Linked DNA regions of Homo sapiens: all the other regions are linked to region 3. Evidence: promoter capture Hi-C in 16 types of primary human blood cells and fetal thymus (Javierre and others, 2016). All regions are on one chromosome and are shown on one strand. Each heading gives the region's core, a stretch centred on a gene start or on the middle of the fragment in contact. The rest is flanking DNA. Distances are from core to core; before and after follow the strand shown.

The links. Contacts are between HindIII fragments. The CHiCAGO score rates a contact against its expected background, and 5 or more counts as called.
Region 1: a contact is called between a fragment that was not itself captured here and the fragment with the promoter of DHX33 in region 3, in 1 of 17 cell types (M1 macrophages). The highest score is 7.3, in M1 macrophages.
Region 2: a contact is called between a fragment that was not itself captured here and the fragment with the promoter of DHX33 in region 3, in 1 of 17 cell types (M0 macrophages). The highest score is 7.0, in M0 macrophages.

What each region holds. Positions count from the first base shown.
Region 1 is chr17:6,605,250-6,609,732 of GRCh38, forward strand. KIAA0753 reads right to left here. Exons shown (of 19, transcript NM_014804.3): 10 at 3,099-3,215; 11 at 1,932-2,021; 12 at 1,624-1,713. Among named protein-coding and RNA genes, the nearest start is that of KIAA0753, 33 kb to the right of the region's middle. The HindIII fragment of the contact is 3,434 bases long and covers 1,140-4,483 here.
Region 2 is chr17:6,627,980-6,632,489 of GRCh38, forward strand. KIAA0753 reads right to left here. Exons shown (of 19, transcript NM_014804.3): 3 at 138-762. Among named protein-coding and RNA genes, the nearest start is that of KIAA0753, 10 kb to the right of the region's middle. The HindIII fragment of the contact is 978 bases long and covers 1,135-2,112 here.
Region 3 is chr17:5,466,064-5,470,913 of GRCh38, forward strand. It overlaps DHX33 (DEAH-box helicase 33), which reads right to left and starts at 2,919. Exons shown (of 12, transcript NM_020162.4): 1 at 2,508-2,919. The coding sequence starts at 2,796. DHX33-DT (DHX33 divergent transcript) reads left to right here and starts at 3,029. Exons shown (of 3, transcript NR_135644.1): 1 at 3,029-3,076; 2 at 3,851-3,931; 3 at 4,029-4,297. RefSeq lists enhancers at 1,971-2,553, 2,343-2,562, 2,943-3,012. The HindIII fragment of the contact is 2,364 bases long and covers 1,694-4,057 here.

The DNA.
Region 1 (4,483 bases), core at 1,607-4,106, 1.1 Mb after region 3:
TGCAGACCTGCTGTCTGCTAAGGATAGTCATCCCATCCCCACAGTAGCTGACCAGAAAGAGCTGAGAAGCCGTGCATTACAGCGCAGCCCCTCTCCTGACAAGGCTTCCTCCCGAAGTCCAGTGGACCTGGCTCACCGACAGGCCCTCCAGATGGAGGACGCCCTGTGTGTGCAGGACTCACTCCCGACCCTGCTCAGTGACCTCCTGAGAGGGGCACCTACAACTCTCATGAAAGCACAAATCAGATTAGGATCCAGGCTCTGTTCAACCTGTCTTCCCCTAGGAGTCTTCATCTGATACTACCAGAAACACTGCCCTTTCCATGTTCAGCTAGATTTGTGCCTGTTTCTCAGTTTTCAAAATTAAACAAGATATTGTTAGGGATACACACATAGTTGACAGATTTATGAAGAAGAGTAATGAAAAGATCAACACAAGAATCAGGACAGTGGCTGCCTCTCGGGGGAAAGGGGATGCAACTGAGGAGGGATACACTGGAAACTTCTGCAGCAGTGGCAACGGTCGATTCCTTGACTTACGATGGTGGTGCGTGGATGTTCATTCTGTAATATTTTGGATTGCACATGTGCATTCAGTATGTTCTTCTATATGTGTGATATGTTTAATTTCTGAAGTAAAAACACACAGAGGAATAAACGGGACACAGAGGATGAAGCTTTTGCTATATGGCCCAAAGGACAAGTGGGTAAGAGTCACAGAGAACCAAACTTCAACACAGCCTGAGGTCACACCTTCTTAGCTATAAATGACCATGAAATGTATTCCCTCTGACAGTAGTGACTATCCCATCACAGAGGGTGTGTGTAAATATACTGGACAGTTCCTTGGTGGAGATAGTAGAGAGGAGCCAAAAGCCTCAGTTGGGGGGAAAAGATCCTTCAAATCCCAAGATTCTGGGATTGTATGACTTGAAATCTTTACTACAGACAAAAAGTCTTGGCCTTCTAATGATAAACCCACAGCCCTTCTAACCTGAGACTGAACACTCCATCATGAATGGTGACAGAATGCACAGATGTTTCAATGAGTGTTCTGTTAATGTGACTATAGGATGAATTATTATCAGAGTTGGAAAAATGAGGTAATTGCAGCAGCAGCTGAACTAAATCTTTTAACAAGCTTCTTTATGTCTATAGTGCCTATAGTTTAAAAAACACTTATGGAGTGAATAGAAAAAGGGAACCGCATTTGAAAACCATAGCCTGCACTCAAGCTAACATACGAAACTAAAGTAGCTATATGTTGATTCACATGAGCAGAACATGTATGTGCATCATACTCATCTTCTGCCCTTAGAAGGACTGACATCTGGCTAGAGAAAAGTACCTTTGAGGGTAGTCCAAACAAATACACATAAGACTCTGATCTTTCAGACAGAACTTCTCTACAATTACAGATTTTTTTCAGTTCTCCTTCAAACTCCACACAAAAGAAGCATTTCCTAGCAAAAAAATATGGTATAATATACAGGTAGACATGCAGCTATTCATTCATTCATGTAATGAAGTTAGGCCTTAACAGTCCAGGTTGGTTGCTAGAACTATCTAGATCAATTAGAACAGGCAAACATCCACTATTCTTCCTAAGAAGCAAACACATACCTCAATTGTTGGAGTCTATACATTTCTTCAGCTTTGAGCTCATTCAGTTCCTTTGTTCTTCTAGAAGTTTCAGCATCAAGCCAATCAAGCCTAGAGAACAGTATCAAGAGTCACCCCAACTCTCCTCAAGGCAGAGTCAGGGCTCCCTTGAGCTCCAGTCTTGGCTCCCCCCTTGGCTTCTTAAGTGACTTCAGTCTTTTAAGGAGGCAGAAGTGTAGCTAGACCTAAATAATCTCTATTTATCATTAATGTATAGAGATGTAGAATAGGCCTGCTTACCTTTTCCTAACTCAGAAGCAAATATTTACCTCTGTTTTTGCATGCTGTCAATTTCCTTGGCTTTTAACTCTTCTAGTTCCTTCAATCTTTTGGAAGTTTCAGCATCAAGCCAAGCGAGCCTAGCAGACAGTCAAAAGAGTCAAACCAATTCTGCCTCGACACTGCAGGGTGTCATCATCACAGAAACAGACCAGAAATCAGGACCACTGCAGAGCAGAGCACCAATCCAGGCTCTATTAAGCTACTCAGTAGGTAACATAATCTCTCCGTACCCCTAAAGCTCTCTAGAACGTGTTCCATGTCAAAAAACATTAATGCACAACGCAATGAGAACCTGTCTCAAACGTTCTCAAGAAAACCAGCTATCACTCAGACTTGGGGTTTCTTATTAGACTCAAACAAAACCATTGCTATATCTTCAAGTTGAGACAAACAATGAGCCCCCAGGAGCCATATAGGCATGGTGAAGTCAAATAAAAACAAAAGGGAAAAGTTAACTGTGAACAACTCTGCTGTATGTAAAAGTGCTTTGATTCTTTTGGTTTAGGATATATGAATATTGTCAAATTATTTAATGGACCGCTTTCATTTTTGTTTTCCCATAACTGTAAGAATAATTTCAGCCAAATGAATACAGAGAAACCTGTTCTCACTGTTCTCTTCTTATGGAATGTTCTCACCTCATCTCCCATATTGAAATCCTGCCTGTTCTTCAGGTCCTAGTTTAATTTCCATCCATGAAGCCTAGACCTCTGCAGCCAGAAGTAACCCTCCCCCGTTTCTAAACTCTCTCAGTTCCTAGGTTACATACCGTGTTCTATCTTAAATTATAGTTAATTACATAACTTCTCTATTGACTATAAATAAGCAAGGGCTGGGATTATGGCCTATTTGCCCTTTTTAAAGTCTCCATAGAGCTCATAACACTGTCACATACAAAACTAGCAAGTGATATATAATTGACACATATATAATTTATGAATGAATAAGAAAAAATAGAAGAGCTCACTATAAGCTATATAGTTTGACTGAAACGTTTAATAAACTACATTTTATGTATTTATTCTATTTTTAAAAATAATCTACATTTTAAATAACCAACTTTAAATGTAGGAAAGAGAAGAAAGGGTTCACTTCCAAGTCTATGTAAAAGGAGCTCTTTAATTCTCAAAGATCTGAAAAATACCAGCACAAACCTGGCTGCTTCATGCTCAACAGCACCTGTCAGGTGACTTTCCTCTTGAGGATCTTCTTGCTGGAGAGGCTCTTTTGTGGCATCTCTGGGGCTAGTTTTCACCTTTAGCCATGCAGCACTGAAATAAATGGAAAAGCATACCTTTGTCATCATTCACTCCGTATCCAATGACTCATCCAAGTAGGTGCCAGCTCAGAGATGACAACAGCATTAAATTAATGGTGATCTGTAGCACGGGGCCCTACAGTAGAAGCTGAATGTGAAGAAAAGTGAGATCCTCCCGCACTCAGGCACAGTGTCAAAGGGCAGAAATTCTCCTTTGCTTCAAAGAAGCCATCACCATTTTAAATGAGAAACAGTGATCAATTACAGAATATTGGGTGAGTGTCAACAAAACTCTGTCACAATACATAGATTTGGATCACTAATTACATTCCATATTATAAGGCAACTCCGTATCTTTATAAGGCCTAACAGCACTGTTGAGCCTAGAAGCCTCACCCACCCTCCTCTACCCACCACACATGCACTCTAAAAGACAGTCCATTGTATATTTGGTTTGTAATACAAACTTCAACCACTGAGCTTATCAACTGAATGTAAATCTCCATATTAATACTTGTATACAAAAATACAGAAAACAGAATAGAGTAATAAAAACAAAAAAAGCACATTATGAAGTCAGAAGACCTGATTTTAGGTCTGGCTGTTACATGAATAAGACATTAAATTCTCTAAACATTGTTTCCTTAACTTGAAAATGAGAGTGGATGGATGAGCACGGCCATTCCTTCACACTCATTCGGAATCTTAGGGGGCTTCTCTTCCACCAAGCTGCTCACCCTGACTTCTGATGGCTCCAAAGACAGAACCCTGTAGTCACCTATCTTCTCCCTTCTCCCCTGACATGACTGCTTTTTACTTCTTTCCTTTTTCTGTTCCACCTCCTGGTCCTTTCCATTGTGTTTTCAAAAACTACTGCCTCACGGCAAACGAGCTCCCCTTTATCTTCAACCGATTCCCCTAAAGATTATTTCCACCTAACTGGACCCTGCTCCTCTTCTCTCTAGCCCTGTGAAATGGCAGCTTCTCATTCTAATGTGCTATGAGTGAGGATGACAAGACAGTAACATCAACATTATCCTAATTGCTCCCTGCAGCTAAGACAGTGTTGGTGAGATCTATATAGTTTTATAGTTCATAATTATCTTGACTTAGAGTTAGAATTATTTTAAAATATTTATTTACTCAGCAAAGATTTACTGAATGCCTACTATGTGACTAGCACTGGACATTCAAATATAAAAAAGAATATAAAAAAGACACAGTCCCTGGCCTCAAGTTACTAGAATCTATTGGCAGAAGAGACAAGTGAAGGGAAGCCCC
Region 2 (4,510 bases), core at 374-2,873, 1.2 Mb after region 3:
GTACTCACACTCCAGTGAACCAACTCACAGAAGGAAAGAATGAAATTGCTATAGGGGTTGAGGGTCCTCAAGGAATGCATTTAAACTACCCCATAATCACAGCCTTAGGTCGAAGTAAAGAATCTAATTTTTCTCACCTTTTTTAGTTACCTCTTCAATTTTGTGGATACAACTGCTCAGTTCTTTCTGGAGTCGCTGGACTTCTAGCAGGCTTTTCTGTTCACTTATGTTTTTGTGGTCACCTATCCTGGGATGAGGCTGAAGTCCCGGATCATGGGTGGGTGGCGAATTTGGCACAGTAAGATCTGACTGGCCTGGATGAGATGAGTAAAGGTATACTTTGGCACCAGAGCTGGAGATTTCTACTTTGGATGGCTGGTGGCTACACTGACAGGCTGCTTGACTCTTTGATTCCTTCCTTTCCACCCTGTGGTCGGGTATTTTATACTTAGTATGTCCACACTTCTGAGAGCTTTGAGGCTGACTTCTGAGATGATGTTCTTTTATATGTTTTTCAAATTGTCTTCGTTTCACATCTCTTCTGGCTAGGTGGACAGCATAGCTAAGTCTCTCTTGGGATATGACGGAAAATGAAACAGAACTGCCCAGGTCAGGACCAACTCTACAATCTGCATCTTTACAATGGTATGATTCATTGTATGAGTGCTTCAGTTTTTCAATTCTAATGGCATGTGGGCAAGAATATCGGATCGCCAAGTTGCTTGAATGTGTAGGAACATTCCTATTAAACTGCAGCTGGTTCTTTAAAAAGCAAATAAAAGTAAGCAGACATCAGAAAAATTTCATATTGCACAGTTGGTATATGTCTATAATCAAATTTCTAAAATTTTGCCACCAGATCATTAGTGCTAAGAGGCATTTTTCTGTTTTACTGATAGACACAGCCACGCTCCTACACCCTTGGGTTCATCACATACCCCTGGTTCTATCCTATAATCATCCAGTCCCATACTATTATCCTTCTGTTTACTAATGTCATACTGGGAACCATCTCTAAAAGTAAACCCAGAAAGCTTCAAGCAGCAACCACTAAGTCCTTCAATTTCCCAGTTATGGACTTCTGTCCTATTTCAAAATGTCAGGCCCCAGCAAGTGACCAATATAACCCATTGAAGCTTTCTTAAAATTTGCTCCACGGATAGATCCAAGCCATCTGATAGTACTTCTTCAGGTCTTCCTGAGACTTCATTTGGTGGCTGGATCCATCTTTTACCCTGCCCCTAAGTGTATCTCACTTGAAACAGTCCGCTTATGCTTTCTTACACAGGCTCAAGTTTTTGTCAGTTTTCCTCATAATAAATACAAGTTTTGTTTCGTTTTGCACTTAAACATAAACATGTTTCTATATCCCTACAGCTTTTATTTATCATTGTTGCATTTTCCAAAATCCAATGAATGGTCTTTTCATGCCTAACTATAATGTTAATATTAAACATTTAGATTGTTCCAGTTTTTCCACTAATAGAAATATTACCTCAATTAATGTCTCCATGCATTTAGTTTTTTAACCTTTTAAAATTATTTCCTTAGGATAAATGATCTGTTCTGGGATTATCAGGTTAAAGGAAAGAAACGATTTTATGGCTTTAAATATGTACCCTCCTTAGGCCTACCAGAATGAACCTGTCAAAGACCGGTCAATAGCCTGAGGAGAATCCATGCCTACAAATTCAATGAACCCAGTCCTGTGATGCCGTGACCTTGGAGATGGCCTCCCCTGCTCTCACAATCAATGTGTTTATATAATTACAGGCATCAAGAGTCACTTAAAAATAATCAATTGTGACAAAACTTCAGGGAAGTATTTCGGATTTTTAAAAAGTAGTTAGAAAGCTCACTAAAGAAAAAACAAATAGGTACCATCTGAAAGATACACAGACTGATGAACGGTGTTTGTCATTTGAGGTCAGGAGTTTGAGACCAGCTTGGCCAACATGGCAAAACCCCATCTCTACTAAAAAACATATAAAAATTAGGTAGGCGTGATGGCACATGCCTGTAATCCCAGCTACTCAGGAGGCTGAGACACAAGAATCGCTTGAGCCTGGGAGGTGGAGGTTGCAGCGAGCTGAGACTAAGCCACTGCACTCAAGCTTGGGTGACAGAGGAAGACACTGTCTAAATAATAATAATAATTATAATAATAATTATTGAAGTATAAAAAGATCAAAACTGAATAAAAACAGGGAAAAACATATGACCAATTTACCAAAAAAGAGGTCCTTAAGTACATAAAAAGATGTTCAATCTCATAACACAAATTAAAAATACATGGAAATACCATCTCTTACCCAACCGATTAGCAAAAATTTAAAAGTATAGCAATATATGCTGTTGGTGAGGCTGTGGGAAGCAGGCGCCCTCATAGAAGAGGTGCTGGTGGTCATGCAAATTGGCATAATTCTTATGGAGGGGAATTTGGCAATCGCTAACAAAAACACCATGCATTCATCACTTTTTTTTTTAATTAAAAAGATTTAGCACAGGAAAGAAAGAAAAGACACTTGAAAGAGACCCAAGCAGGCAACTTGAAGGACAAGTATCACATTTAACTTTTGACCCAGGAGTCTCACTTCTAGGAATTTACCCTGTAGACACACCTCCAACAATAAACATGTACAGGGTTACTCACTGCTATATTGTTTGTAACTGTAAATTATTAGAATCAATCTGAGTCCCCATGAAGGAGAGTAGCTGAGTAAACAATGGTCTATCCACAAACTGGAGTAAAATGAAGATATAAAACAAAAATGAGGAAGATCTCTGTGACACTTCTATGAATTAATGTGGAGAGATTGGAATATATTGTTCAGCAGAAAGCACTATGCGCAAAAAGTATATTTATAATACACTACCCTTCATATAAGAAAAGAAGACATGAGAAAATATATATACATCTGAATCACTTGTGCAAAAAGAAACAGAAAACAAAAATCAGAGACTAATGAGATTAGTTATCTACAGGGAACTGGTAGGAATAGGAAGGAAAGGACAGAGGGAATGGGGTAGCAGATAACTTTTCTGAATATACCTTTTTGTATATTTGGAACCATGTTAATGTTTCACATATACACGAGAGACAGGAAGAAAGAAATGAATGAATGAAGGGAGGAAGAGGGAAAGGAAGGAAAAAAAAATCCATAAGGATAGTGGAAAACCCCCAAATAAATACCAACAGAAACCAATGAACCAAACTGAATCTCAGATAAGTAACATAACCACGCTAAAAAGTGAAGATGAAAAAAATTAACCCCAGTAACTTTTGAATATAGCATTTGGACTATATGCCGTCAGGCTAAAGACAGATGTACTCTAAACAAATACTGAACTCTAATTTTGCAGGCTTCTTCTTGAGCAGAGACACGGATTACAATTCAGAAACTACCTTTTGTACATTCCAGAACTGAGCAAAAAAGTAAATATATTGTGGATAATGATAGCCAGCTTTCATGCTCTGGGACAAGGGAGTTGGAAATATGTAGTGTTGGATTTGAATTGGAGATACCTGTGTGAACTTGTGAGTTTTAATACAGACATATAGGCAGACAGACACAGAAAGATACATAGACAGCAAGAGAAGGAGGAAGGGAAGAGAAAGAAAGAAACAGGAAGGAGATGAGAAAGTGTAGCTACAGACATGTGAGTACGGGTGTGCATTTATGAATGTGTGTACATGTATGTATATGCACACAAGTATACATCTATTTCCTAGTTCTGTCCTCTGAGAGGGCCTAAAACAATGACATGATAGTATCAAGGAGCACATCCAGCCCCAGATAGTGATTTTTTAAATTTCATTCTCCACTGAAGAATCAAAGTCTCCTTGGATAAATGGTTAATTCCAGGGCCAGGACAAAGAAAAGACAAGTTGAGCCTGGAGTATCTTTTATTTATTTATTTATTTATTTATGAGACGGAGTCACCCAGGCTGGAGTGCAGTGGCACAATCTTGGCTCACTGCAACCTCCGCCTCCTGGGTTCAAGTGATTCTACTGCCTCGGCCTCCCAAGTAGCTGAGATTATAGGTGTGCACCATCATGCTCAGCTAATTTTTTTGTATTTTTTAGCAGAGATGGGGTTTTAGCAACATGGGGTTTCACCATGTTGGCCAGGCTGGTCTTGAACTCCTGACCTCAAGTGATCCTCCTGCCTTGGCCTCCCAAAGTGCTGGGATTACAGGCATGAGCCACAACGCCCAGCCTTGGAGTGTCTTTTTACACCATAAAGTGGTCAAAGACTGATGAGATCATGTCAAAGAGACACTGGGGCCAACTAGAAGTGGCTCTCACTGGCTAAATCAAAGACCATTTGAACATCAAAATAAATATCTGCACATCAAAATAAATAATGAGAATAAAAATAATAATGAGTCTGTGCTGAAATAAATAAGTAAGTACTAGGAAAAGAAGGGGTTTCCTGGAGCAGTGGGAAAGAGCCAGATTGCAAGGAGTAAGGCAACAAGTAAATGTAGAAGGAAGGGTAAAATTAG
Region 3 (4,850 bases), core at 1,669-4,168:
TACTGAGTTCTTCCCCTCAACCTCTGAATACAGATGGTCCCTGTCTTAGAACTGTTTGACTTCAGGATGGAGCAAAAGTCAAAATCGTACAGTAGAAACTGTACTTTTGAGTACCCACACAACTGTCACTTTCAGTATGGTATTCAATAAATTGCATGAAATATTCAAGACTTTATTATAAAATAGGTTTCATGTTAGATAATATCACCCAACCATAGGCTAATGTACATGTTCCGAGCACACTGAAAGTAGGCTGGGCATATTAAATGCATTTCCAACTTAGGATATTTTCAACTTATGAGGATGGGTGGATTCATCCACACATAACCCCATCCTAAATCGAGCAGCATCCATAAAGTTTCTCTCAGCTTCCCTCCTTTTTCCTCAAAACAGAAGCCTCTTCCCCCTGCTTTCAGCCCTCAGCTCAATGACAAATCAGCTGTTACCCACACAGCTTTGTTGAAATAGCTCTCGATGGGATGGATCCACGATCAATAGTGTCAGAGATAGTCTGTGAAAGTCATGAAAAATTTTATGAGAGGAAATGTATGCAAGAAATGTTTTACAATTTAAAAGTGATTAGGCCTCCTGAATGCTTTATAAAATGTCACCATAACTCTTAGCTGTAGAACTTGCCTGCTTTGCAGCTAGGTAAAACCTAGGACACATGGAGCTAAATGCTGAAATAAGCCAGACCTTAACTGCACTTCTGTCTAAGTCCTAGGCTGTACACCTAGCACATAATTAAAATCCCGAACTTACCAAGGTTTTCAACAAAGGTAAAGGTTGCTAAAAGTTAACAGTGTAACATGTATTTAAAACTATTGAAGAGACACTTTATGTGCAAGGTGTGTAAGGAAAGTAAAGTACACTTTCGGTAAAAAGATTATCAGGAGGGATAAGAATGCACATTTTTACCTACGTTAAAAGGTTAAATAATTGTTTTGAGGGGGCCAGGTGCGGTGGCTCACGCCTCTTTCTATATCAACCAATCGGGCCTAGTAAAAAGCGCTGCTAAAAAACGTAAAGAAAAGGCTAAAAAGCTAAGGGAGTACCAAAACCACCAAATGGACTCTTGGTTTGAAAACAAAATCATAGCATGGGTCATCCCATTCCTGGGCCCTCTCCTAATAATATGCCTGGAACTAATGTTCTTACCCTGCCTAATTAATCTTTTTCAAAGATTTTTAACTGACAGGATCATGGCAATTTCACAAACAACTACCCAAAAACATCTACAGACGGCATTGCTCCTAGTCAACCCGAGACCAGGAAACTCTCCATCCCCTCGTTGCAGGAAGTAGCCAGAAAGAACATGCCGTCCCTCCTCCTTTTTATAACTATAGGGTCTGGATTGACAAAGCAGGAACATCACCATCTTGGACAAGCCCCTCATTCAAAAGTTCACCTTAATAAAAAACCGCCTAAATCCAAAAGGTATCAGCCTAATGGCTAAGGTCAGCACGACCATAAACCACAAATAACATCTCCAGCCAGAAACATTCCAAACTCCTCCCCGACCAGAGACATGTTAAGGGATAACCCCACTCTGGCCGGGAATATGCCAGCCGGGAATATGCCAGCCGGGAGATAAACCCCCTCGGGCCGGAAAAATGTCTGCCCCAAGATAACATCCCCTGCTCCCAAAGAGTCCAACCCTGCCAAAAACTTCTCCACACATATAAACATTCCAAGCTTGTGATAAGCCCCCTCACCCTAACACCAATATATACTCTTAGTCTGTAAGAGAAAGGGCTCCTGACCGAAATCGGCCAGGAGCGCCTCTCAGGTTTTAACTAAAGAAAAGCTGTCTTTAACTGCCAGCCGCGTTTCGTGTTTCTTTCCTTTTTCTTTAACTCTTACAAATAGCTCACATCCAAATCCAGTGGGCATCACATCCAAGTCCAGTATAACCGGACTTGACTGCTGCATCTGCTCACTCTCTATTCCTTTGACTAGCAGCACTCATGGGTCTCCTTCCTCTCTTTGGCTGCTCATCCTTTCCGTCCTTCAGTATCTCCTCTAACACGTTGGGGATCATAAGCCCCATGAAATCAGTCCCTGCCCCACAACTCTGCCTCTTTTCATGCACCAGAAACTACACCTTCCCTTTCGACCGGAATGTGTTCAGGTTCCCATCTCTCAAACGGGCTTTCCCCCCTGCCTAGAATGCCCTCCCTCCCACACGACCTCCCCAGCCGCCTCCTCACAAACCGGGTCAGATCCACTCTTCTAAGATCCGCAAGCCCCCGGTACGTTTCTCTACCCTTTTACGCGGAAGGTGAGTCTTTGCCTACACACGTTGGTCACTCTCACCGGGCTGTCCAGCGCCTCCAGGGCAGGGCTGCCGGACTCTTCTTCGAGGCCCCTCTCCAGGTCTGGCCCAGAAAAGGTATTCAGGTTTGTTGAAGCCACGAACGAAAGGGATTGAGAGGCATGTAAGAAAAACTGCTCTAGCTAAGCCACGGACGAAGTGCAAGGAAGAGCCCGCCGGCGCGGCCACTCACCGATGAGGACCGCGTTGTCCAGGTTTCGGAGCTGGGCCAACAGTTGCCCCCGCGCTTGGAAGATGGGCAGACTCCGGCGCTGCAGCTCCACAGCTTCAGGGTAGGGACTGGCCGAGGGCTGGGCCAGGGGCGGCTGCTGCCTCCGGCCTCCTCCTCCTCCTCTGCCGCCGCTGCCCGCAGTCAGCAGCATCACCACTTGCCTCCCGGGAGGGAAGGACCCAGCGCGGCTCGGAGGTCCAGAGCCTGGCCGGAATCTCTTGGCCGGCGGGAAGCCCGCCTCCTCCGGCATGTCGGGAGGGCACCGCGGCGGGAGGCGCAAGCGCCGAGAGCTCCTGCCCCCTCTCAGGTGCAGACAACAGGAGCACACCGCCCCTTCCTCGCCGCCACGTGCTGGCGGCTCCCGGCGACCACCGATGACCTCACGGCCGCCCCAGTCTTTAGAAAAAGGGACTGCATCTCCCAGCATGCCTTGGGGGCTTGGGAAGGCTTTCACTTCCTGGGGGTGGGAAAAGCAGGGCCTGAGGTACAACCAGGAAAAGGCCCGGAGCTACAACCGGGAAACACAGGATGTAAGGTTCCGTGGGACTGTAGTCTTGGTTAACGAGGTTTTTCTCATTGTTTTATTTTTTTTTTTTGAGATGGAGTTTCGCTCTTGTTGCCCAGGCTGGAGTGCAATGGCGCGATCTCGGCTCACACTGCAACCTCCGCCTCCTGGGTTCAAGCGATTCTCCTGCCTCAGCCTCCCAAGTAGCTGGGGTTACAGGCGTGCGCCACCGGGGCCCGTCTAATTTTGTATTTTTAGTAGAGACAGGGTTTCTCCATGTTGGTCAGGCTGGTCTTGAACTCCCGACCTCAGGTGATCCGCCTGCCTCGGCCTCCCAAAGTGCTGGGATTATAGGCGTGAGCCACCGCGCCCCGCCCATTGTTTTGTTCTAGTAGCATTACTTCTTTTCAGTAAACCCGCGTTTTCCCCTTCTCTGTCCAAATAACAGTCACTCTTCAAGGAAAGTACTTAATTCTGTAAAATCAATGAGAAGCGCAAACGTGCATTGTCTAATCCTCTAAACAACTTATAAGTTATGTGGTATATACTGGTTATTAGATTATCTCTAATTTACAGATTAAGAAATTGAGTCATCTTAGTCATTCAGATGTCCCCAAATCATAATTTTGTGATCATCTTGTGTTACAGAAAGGAAAACCAATTCTGATATACATGAATTTAACTCAGAAAATGACTCCTCCAACGGATGTGGTCGCCTCCAGTAATACAAGCAGAGAAAGGAGGGAGTTCAATGAAATTAAAATTGTCTTTTATCTTTCCTTTCCCCCAACCATTCCAGCCAGACTCTCAAGTTCTCTACATGGCTGTGCAACCCCATCACAGACACTTCAGTGAAGATTCAGAACTGCAGCAGAAAAAAGTAGGATTATAACTAGTTCTTCCTTACCCTCCTAAAAGTTCTTAGATGATTTGCTAATTTACCACGGAGAATGCCAAGTAGCTGTTTGCTCTTACAGGAAATGTGATTTCCAGAGAATACACCGTAAGCTTCAGCTCATGTGAAGGGTATCTTCTGAAGCTCGTTTCCATGAAACTCGCCCTGTTAAATATCTCCCTTCCCGTGATTCGTGAGAGAGCTAGTCTAAAAACAAAAAACCTCCCCTTTGCTCCAGGTCGGAGATAATTTTCCTCTAGTTGCTGACAGTTTGGTGACCAGGCATTACTGAAAATGTGCACGTTGAACCAGCAGCAGATTTGTGTTTAAGAATAAACTGACAAATTTTCACTTCCTACCCTGAAATATTTAGAAAGGCAACCCAAAACTACAAGGGATAATAAATGTTAACTCTCAAATTATGGACTTTGAGTAAAGACATCCCAGTCCTTTTTCCCAGTGTGCTTTCCAGAGTAACTTAAGGTAGGAGTCCGATGTTCCAAATGATTACAATAATTTAGGTAATGTAAATGGGTGGACTTATTTCTTGATGGAGCACATTCCACCTCTACATGCAGCCCCTAATCATTTCTAGGCAATGGCTGTCATGTAGACCTATTATTGCCAGATCTTCCAATTTTCTCAAGAAAAGCCAAAAGTGAAGATTTTTATCTGTCAATGTTAAATACAGGTTTAAACTTAAAAAAAAAAAAAGTACTGTCAAAACAAAGCACATAGGTAGGTAACAAATCTGTAGGTAACTCATCCATAATCTCTGGCCTAATGATCCAGCTATTCTATAGCCTCAAAGCTAAGAGGACCAAAGAGTGGAAAAATTAAGTCCTATATATGCATCAAGCCATGCTGCTCACATTTCTCCCATTGGTAGACTGAAATCTGCTGT